Linked DNA regions of Homo sapiens: all the other regions are linked to region 2. The links are contacts of gene promoters, found by promoter capture Hi-C in blood cells and fetal thymus (Javierre and others, 2016). All regions are on one chromosome and are shown on one strand. The core of a region is centred on a gene start or on the middle of the fragment in contact, and the rest is flanking DNA. Distances in the headings are between cores, read along the strand shown.

Region 1 (2,700 bases), core at 106-2,605, 2.0 Mb before region 2:
CAGTAATGTTCTAGGCCTTCACATTCACTCACCACTCACTCACAGACTCAACCCAGAGCAACTTCCAGTCCTGACAGCTCCATTCATGGTTCAGTGCCCTACACAGGCATGCCATTTCTCTTTTATACCACATTTCTACTGTACTTTCTCTGTCCTTAGATATGTTTAGATAAATAAATACCTACACAGCACTGTGTTCCAATAGTCTACAGTATTCAGTTCAGTCATATGCTGTACAGGTTTGTAGCCTAGGAGCATTAAGCCATATTACATAGCCTAGGTGCCTAGTAGGTTGTCCCATATAGGTTTGTGTAAGTATACTCTATGAGGTACACAACGAGGTTCTCTGAATGTATCCCATTGTTAAGGGATGTAAAGCTATATGTACACCAACTATATGTGTACCCTTGAGGCTACATTATAAACTTTTGTCCTTAAGGCACTGGAAAGCCATTTAGAGTTTTTCTGTTTTGTTTTCTGAGACGGAGTCTCACTCTGTTGCCCAGTCTGGAGTGCAGGGGTGTGATCTCAGCTCACTGCAGCCTCCGCCTCCCAGGTTCAAGCAATTCTCCTGCCTCAGCCTCCTGAGTAGCTGGGATTACAGGCATGCGCCACCACACCTGGCTAATTTTTGTATTTTTAGTAGAGACGGGGTTTCACCATGTTGGCCAGGCTGGCCTCAAACTCCCAGCTTCAGGTAATCCGCCCACCTCAGCCTCCCAAAGTGCTGGGAGTACAGTACAGGTGTGAGCCACCGCACCCACCTGGCCACCATTTAGAGTTTTAAGTAAAAAGCTGACATGGTCAGATCTGCCTTTTAAAAATGTAATTTTTTTTTTTTTGAGATGGAGTCTCACTCTGTCACCCAGGCTGAAGTGCAATGGCGCGATCTCAGCTCACTGCAACCTCCACCTCCCAAGTTCAAGTGACTCTCATGAGGAGTAGCTGGGATTACAGGCGCAGGCCACCATGCCTGGCCAATTTTTGTATTCTTAGTAGAGACGGGTTTTTTTGTTGTTGTTGCTGTTGTTTTTGAGACGGAGTCTCCCTCTGTCACCCAGGCTGGAGTGCAGTGGCGCAATCTCAGCTCACTGCAGTCTCTGCCTCCCAGGTTCAAGTGATTCTCTTGCCTCAGCCTCCCGAGTAGCTGGGATTACAGGCACGCGCCACCACGCCAGGCTAATTTTTGTATTTTTAGCAGAGATGGGGTTTCACCACGTTGGTCAGGCTGTTCTTGAACTCCTGACCTCATGATCGGCCCACCTCAGCCTCCCAAAGTGCTGGGATTACAGGTGTGAGCCATCACACTGAGCCTGAAAATGTAATTTTTTTAGGCTGTATTGATGCCTGACGCCTGTAATCCCAAGTTTTTTGGGAAGCCCAGGTAAAAGAACTGCTTGGGGTCAGGAGTTCAAGATCATCCTGGGCAACACTGTGAGACCTCATCTCTACAAAAAATTAAAAAGTTTTAAAAAGAAAATGTAACATTTTGACACTAACAAAACTACAAATGTGTTTACCTTTCACCCCACATCTATCTTAAAGCTGTATCTGCACAAATAAAAAACAATATACCCACAAGGTTATTCATTGCCGCAATATTTATAACAGCCAAGAGAATATAAACAACCCAAATGTTCATCATTAGGAGATGAGTTGCAAGCACGCACTTCAATGAAGCGCTCTCCAGAATAAATTAAGTAAAAGGGAGCAGTGTGCATAGAACGGCAGAGCAGTGTGCATAGAACGCTGCCTATTGTGTAGGAAAGGGAAACAAAAATATACACATATGCTTACATTTGCAAAAATGAAATATCAGAAAAACAAAGCAAAAACAACTGGGGCAAGAGAGAAATTCGTGGAGGAACAGAATTAAAGTGAAGCTGTGAACATAACTTTTTAACACAGATCAGATTTTTTAACTACATAAATGTTCACATAAATGTTCTACATGTTAAAAAATACATTAAATAGGCCAGGCGCGGTGGCTCACGCCTGTAATCCCAGCACTTTGGCAGGCCGAGGCGGACAGATCACGAGGTCAGGAGATCGAGACCATCTTGGCTAACATAGTGAAACCCCGTCTCTACTAAAAATACAAAAATTAGCCGGGCGTGGTGGCGGGCACCTGTAGTCCCAGCTACTCAGGAGGCTGAGGCAGGAGAATGGCGTGAACCCGGGAGGCGGAGCTTGCAGTGAGCCGAGATCGCACCACTGGACTCCAGCCTGGGCGACAGAGCGAGACTCTGTCTCAAAAAAAAAAAAAAAAAAATACATTAAATAAAAAACTAAAGCAATTCTTAAAGGAAGAATTTCAGGCAAACAACCCAAATTAATTATCAAACATATAACATAATCAGAGAAAATCTTTTCAAATGGCCTTCCAAATTAGAATGTCAACTGTACATGCTTATGTGGATATATTTTAAGGAAAAAACCATAACCAAACATAAAGCTACAGTTGCTTATTAGTGTTATTTTCAAACTACATTTATACTGTAAGATAATGCAATTATATTAATGTTGCTAAGAATGTAAATTTTCAACGTTAGAGAAAAAAGGATAAGCTCATAGTAAAAACTCTGTGATGTTAAATTCGAACTGGAAATACCAATATAAAAATCAAAATCTGTATGCTTCCCATGGCTGTCCAATAAAAGCATGGGCATTCTAACAGTAAGAACATATAACACCCAGATT
Region 2 (2,700 bases), core at 48-2,547:
TAAAAGTGGGATAATGATATAGTCTTCATGAAGCTGTGAGGATTAAAGAAGTTAAGGCTGGGTATGGTGGACCACCCCTGTAATCCCAACACTTTGGGAGGCCAAGTTGGGCGGATGGCTTGAGGTCAGGAATTGGAGAGCAGCCTGGGCAACATAGGAGACCCCTGTCTCTACAAAAATATAAAACAAAGGAGTTAATATTTGTAAAGCCTTCAAAACAGTTATTGGCATAGCCAGAACTTTGTGTGTTATTATTTTAAGACCATTGCTCCACAGGACCTGACAGCTTTCAATTTACATGCTTTAAAAAAGCAGAGAAATGAAAACTGTCGATTTTCCCAACGCTCCCTAATTTCACTAGTTGCTTGATGTTTTTCAAAGCATTTAGAACACTGTAAACAGCAAGGAAGGTCATACAGTAAAGAAAGAAAAAGCAACCCCGAGTTCGAGGTGTGCACTCTTCAACTCAAAAATTCGAATGTAACGCTCTCTGGTCATCCCTTGCCATTACACATATTCTTCGAAATGAACTGATTTTTTTTTTTTCCAAGTAAAAGTAATCCTTACACAACCTAAGAAAAAAGCAGAGCATTTTCCTTGACCACTTTGAGATCTGGGTGAGCAGTGGATGTTTAAATGCTGGCATTTCTACAAGGTCGGCAATTAAGAATTCACGAAAACATTAATCACTACGAATTATCAGAAAAACACCAAGAGCGCTACGAGGCCTCGGAGCCTTTACTCCCCCTGGAAGTAACCGGGGAGCACCCAGGGGCAAAGCCGAGGCCCCAAGCGCGGGGAATGCGGCTTTGCCCGACCGCTGGCTCCGCGTCCCTCTCCGGGTGCATAAGTCTTGGCTCCCGCGCCTCTCCCGAGCACTTAGCCTCCCGAGCAGAGAGGGGAACCAGAGGAGCGTCGAAGCCGGGAGAGAAAAGGGGCGGGCGCCGCTCTGGTAAGAAGTTCGGGCCTGGCCCCCAAGCGCCGGCGAACCGGCTATCCGGCGAGCCAGTAATTAGCCCGCTCCGACGGTTGCGCCCGGTGGCCAGACCCGGCGCCCGACACCTGGAGCGAGTGCGCTGGGGCGCCGGACAGGAGAGGCCAGGCTGGCAAAGGCGCGGGAGGCGGGGTCGGAGCGTGGGCGGGGCACCGCGGGGCGGGGCGCGTCGCTCGTTTCCGGTGTGCGCGGCGGAGCGCTAGGGCGGGGGCACAGTCGGCTCCCAATCGCGCACAATGAGACAGCGCTGAGCGCCGGAAGTGGGGCCGAAGGAAAACACGGAGAGGGAGCCCGGCCGGGACAGGAAGAGGCTGGGGACCGCGGCGAAGGTGGTGAGTGCTCTTGGGCGCCTTCTCCCAACGTCCCTGCCAGACTCGCCTCCGGGCTGATTCTCCAGTTGGTTTCCTGGACTCCAGAGTAGCTGTCCGGCCTGGCCCCGGAGGTACGTTGGTTCCATCCCCCGCCGGCCTCCTCGCACCAGTTTGGGTGACCGAGGAACCCCCAGGCCGGCAGAGGCTGAGCCCTCGGGTTCGAGTCCGTGTTTTCACTTTTTGTCAGACTGCGGGCGCAGAAGACGGGATTTGGGTCAAGACATTCGGCTCTGGCCCCCTGGCCGGCCGGGGGAACCCTGGAACCCCATGGAGACAGCAGGTCACTTCCTGCTTCCTGGTCCCCACGGTGGCTTCTTGGCCAGGAGTGCAGGGACGCCTCCTCTTTCTCCACGTCGGGCTCAAAAGGGTGGAAACTAAGGCAGATCGGTGGTGGAGCGGTCAGATGGGGATTGAAGAGGAGTGTCATTCCTCAGGGAATTGCTGTTCCTGACAAAACCAAACTTGTTTGGGGTTGGAGAACGGGGATTGAGGAGGTTAGATGGAGTTGTCCCTTGATCGGAAACCCAGCCTCTTTAATTACAGCTGCACCTTGGTCGGAAGCCCAGCCCCTCCGTAACCTAAGCGCTCAAAGCCGGTCTGTCCAGAATAGGGGTGGTGAAGGGACGGAAAATTGGAGTTGAGAAATGTAGTACTCCTTTCACGTAAAGTTTCGGTGTATAACACTTACAAGTAATTGCCAACTTAAAAAACAAAAGACTGTTTCGGTAGTTTAGTAATAATATTGGCTTGGGATGAGGTTTTCTTTGAAGAGAAACGCCTTGTTACAGAGGGAAAAGCCGACCATACTTGATATGAGTAATATTCTACTATGCTACAGTTCTGGAACCTATAGAGCTTCTCTTATTCACACATTTAATCTTCATGCTAAATAGTAAGTATTAATTTTCATGAAGAATATTAGAGGACCAAGCCTCCCAACCTCTAGGGTAAAGCACTGATTATTAAGAATGTGATAGAATTTTTATTTTAAAAAAATAGGGAGTTTCTTTCTTACAGGCTTTGGGGCATCTGTACGATAAATTGTTATTTTGTATACTTGTATGATATCTTGTTATATAGTTTGATATTTCCCCAAAATACCTTCTTTCAGGTGCAAAGTAAGAAAATTGAAGTCAAAGACCATGGGAGATACAGCAAAACCTTATTTCGTGAAGCGCACTAAAGACCGGGGGACTATGGATGATGATGACTTCAGAAGGGGTCACCCCCAACAAGATTATTTAATAATAGATGACCATGCTAAAGGCCATGGCAGTAAAATGGAAAAGGGCCTTCAAAAAAAGAAGATAACACCAGGGAACTATGGGAATACCC
Region 3 (2,700 bases), core at 201-2,700, 2.4 Mb after region 2:
AATAAGCACATAACTGGTAAAGTTATTGAAATATAAATTCAGGTTGCTCACTGCAACAGTATATTATTGTTATGCTTATAGCAGATAAGTGTGTATTGGGGAATTGTTGATTTGAGACTAAAATTTTATAATTCTCCCTCCACAGTACCAACACTATAAAGGAAGTGACTTTGACTGCGAGTTGAGGCTGTTGATTCATCAGAGTCTAGCAGGAGGAATTATTGGGGTCAAAGGTGCTAAAATCAAAGAACTTCGAGAGGTAAAAAAAAAAAAATTCTGCCGTATTCTTTGCTGGAAAGTAAATTTTCATATAGACTTGTTTCTGTGAGCTTCTCTCGCTTCCCCTCTCAGTTCCCTCCAAAGATTGCTTATCGCAAATGACAAAAAATGTCTGGCACTGCTAGACATGTTATTTTGTCAAAATTTTTATACCATTGCAAAGCCCTGTGATAATTAATGAAGTTTTTATATTGTGGGGGGTTAATTGTTGAATTCAAATGCAATTTTCACTGAACCTAGGAAAGCTAATTTTCTTCTAATTATTATTATTTTTTTTTATGATCTTACTACAGAACACTCAAACCACCATCAAGCTTTTCCAGGAATGCTGTCCTCATTCCACTGACAGAGTTGTTCTTATTGGAGGAAAACCCGATAGGGTTGTAGAGTGCATAAAGATCATCCTTGATCTTATATCTGAGGTACTTCAGAACACTTTTTGTTTACATTTGATTTTATGAAACAAAGTGATAACCTTCTGCAAAAGTAGCTTCAGAGCATTTAGTCTAATAGTCTTTATTTGCCCTTTCCCTAGCAATTTTCTATCACCTGGCTTCAGCCATCACTTTAATTTAAAAATGGTTTTGAAAAAGTGGAGAGTGGTAATTTGTTGGTGGTATTTCTATAGCCTTTGAGCCTTTGAATGAATTTCCTATAGTGTTGCTTGTGTCTTTGTAACTATGCTGCAGGGCTTCCTATCTCAGGTGCCTCAGTATGGATTACAGGCTTGCCAAGACTGATCTCTTCAGCCCTTGTTGTGAAATGTGCATTGTAGTTTGTCATGTGTAAAATGGGAGGGCTTTGTGGTTTCTTACGATCTAAGTGTAAGAGCAAGCTATTACTTCTCCCTGTATAGGCAATAGAACTCACTTTTGTTTAGCATTTGCCAAAAGTATTGGATTTCTTTGGAATCTTTACTTTGCTACTTTTAGCGTTGACATAATTCCTGTTTCTGTCTCTAGTACCTCCTGATGGGGGAATGACTTACATTTTGTTTGATGATGATGTTAGAAGGATTGGTATGAAGCAGGACTCTTTTTCTTCAGTCTGTAAGTTTGTTCCATCTCTGTTTTTAGTCTCCCATCAAAGGACGTGCACAGCCTTATGATCCCAATTTTTACGATGAAACCTATGATTATGGTGGTTTTACAATGATGTTTGATGACCGTCGCGGACGCCCAGTGGGATTTCCCATGCGGGGAAGAGGTGGTTTTGACAGAATGCCTCCTGGTCGGGGTGGGCGTCCCATGCCTCCATCTAGAAGAGATTATGATGATATGAGCCCTCGTCGAGGACCACCTCCCCCTCCTCCCGGACGAGGCGGCCGGGGTGGTAGCAGAGCTCGGAATCTTCCTCTTCCTCCACCACCACCACCTAGAGGGGGGTAAGTTGTTTTTTTTGTTGTTGTTGTTTTTTCTTCCCCCATCTATGAATTATTAACCTGCAAGAGGCTGCACTTAGTGGTAGACAAGGTAGACTTTGATTTGATATGTGTGGCATGTAAGCACGTTTAGATTACAACAAGTACTATGCTTGCAGAGACCTCATGGCCTATGACAGAAGAGGGAGACCTGGAGACCGTTACGACGGCATGGTAAGAACTTTGGTTTATTACCAGTGTGTTGGGTATGTGAGGGTTGTCACAATGTAGTTCACGTTTTGTTGAAGGTTATAGTGATTAAAAAGTTTTTCTTACAAGTAAATTTTGTTTGGATTACTAGTTAAATAATTCTGTTATTTGCTGCTGGAGGATTACGACTTTATTGAGCTTTGTTCCCCTCGATTACAAAATTGCTGCCTATATATGTACCCTCTTTTGTTTTAATGTAACATGCAAATTAGGCATATTAAAAACAGCTCTATAACAAAATACAATGCGGGTTCATGTTAATGTTTTTATCTCTAACAGGTTGGTTTCAGTGCTGATGAAACTTGGGACTCTGCAATAGATACATGGAGCCCATCAGAATGGCAGATGGCTTATGAACCACAGGTTGAGTATCATAGTTGTTCGTGTGTATATCAGTGATAATTTAAGATGCTTACCTGCTCTCCAGTAAGTTTTTTATTCCCCTGAGGATACTTACTGAAAATAGGATACAGGAGGACTTTGGTTTCCTGAAGAGGGATTTTATGAGATTAAAATACTTGAATAGTGAAGCTGGGTGCAGTGGTGCTCACTCATAATCCCAACTACAAAAGAGTCTGAGGCAGGAGGATCACTTGAGCCCGAGAGTTTGAGACCAGCCTGGGCAACATAGCAAGACTCCATTTTATTAAATGAATTTTTTTAAAGTACCGGTAGTAATTACAACGGCAAAGTAATTTTCTATTTTTTTCTTTCTGTTTTTAGGGTGGCTCCGGATATGGTAAGTTCTCTCCTTTGTGAAGTCAAACATTAATTTCATACTTTTTAAATGA

The links. The method cuts DNA at HindIII sites, captures the fragments that hold promoters and counts their contacts. A CHiCAGO score of 5 or more calls a contact.
Region 1: a fragment that was not itself captured here is called in contact with the fragment with the promoter of TUT7 in region 2 in 1 of 17 cell types (total B cells); the score reaches 5.9 in total B cells.
Region 3: the fragment with the promoter of HNRNPK-AS1 here is called in contact with the fragment with the promoter of TUT7 in region 2 in 2 of 17 cell types (neutrophils and activated CD4 T cells); the score reaches 7.2 in neutrophils.

What each region holds. Positions count from the first base shown.
Region 1 is chr9:88,394,381-88,397,080 of GRCh38, reverse strand. The region is part of intron 1 of SPIN1 (spindlin 1); the gene reads right to left. Among named protein-coding and RNA genes, the nearest start is that of SPIN1, 7.3 kb to the right of the region's middle. RefSeq lists a silencer at 815-1,039 and enhancers at 683-1,183, 1,184-1,684. The HindIII fragment of the contact is 2,924 bases long and covers 1-2,700 here.
Region 2 is chr9:86,353,007-86,355,706 of GRCh38, reverse strand. It overlaps TUT7 (terminal uridylyl transferase 7), which reads left to right and starts at 1,297. Exons shown (of 27, transcript NM_024617.4): 1 at 1,297-1,436; 2 at 2,477-2,700. The coding sequence starts at 2,508. RefSeq lists a silencer at 1,039-1,218 and an enhancer at 1,239-1,448. The HindIII fragment of the contact is 6,298 bases long and covers 1-2,700 here.
Region 3 is chr9:83,970,845-83,973,544 of GRCh38, reverse strand. HNRNPK-AS1 (HNRNPK antisense RNA 1) reads right to left here and starts at 1,450. Exons shown (of 2, transcript NR_186535.1): 1 at 1,268-1,450. It overlaps HNRNPK (heterogeneous nuclear ribonucleoprotein K), which reads left to right. Exons shown (of 17, transcript NM_031263.4): 9 at 146-259; 10 at 573-701; 11 at 1,356-1,663; 12 at 1,819-1,873; 13 at 2,189-2,272; 14 at 2,633-2,648. The HindIII fragment of the contact is 2,844 bases long and covers 596-2,700 here.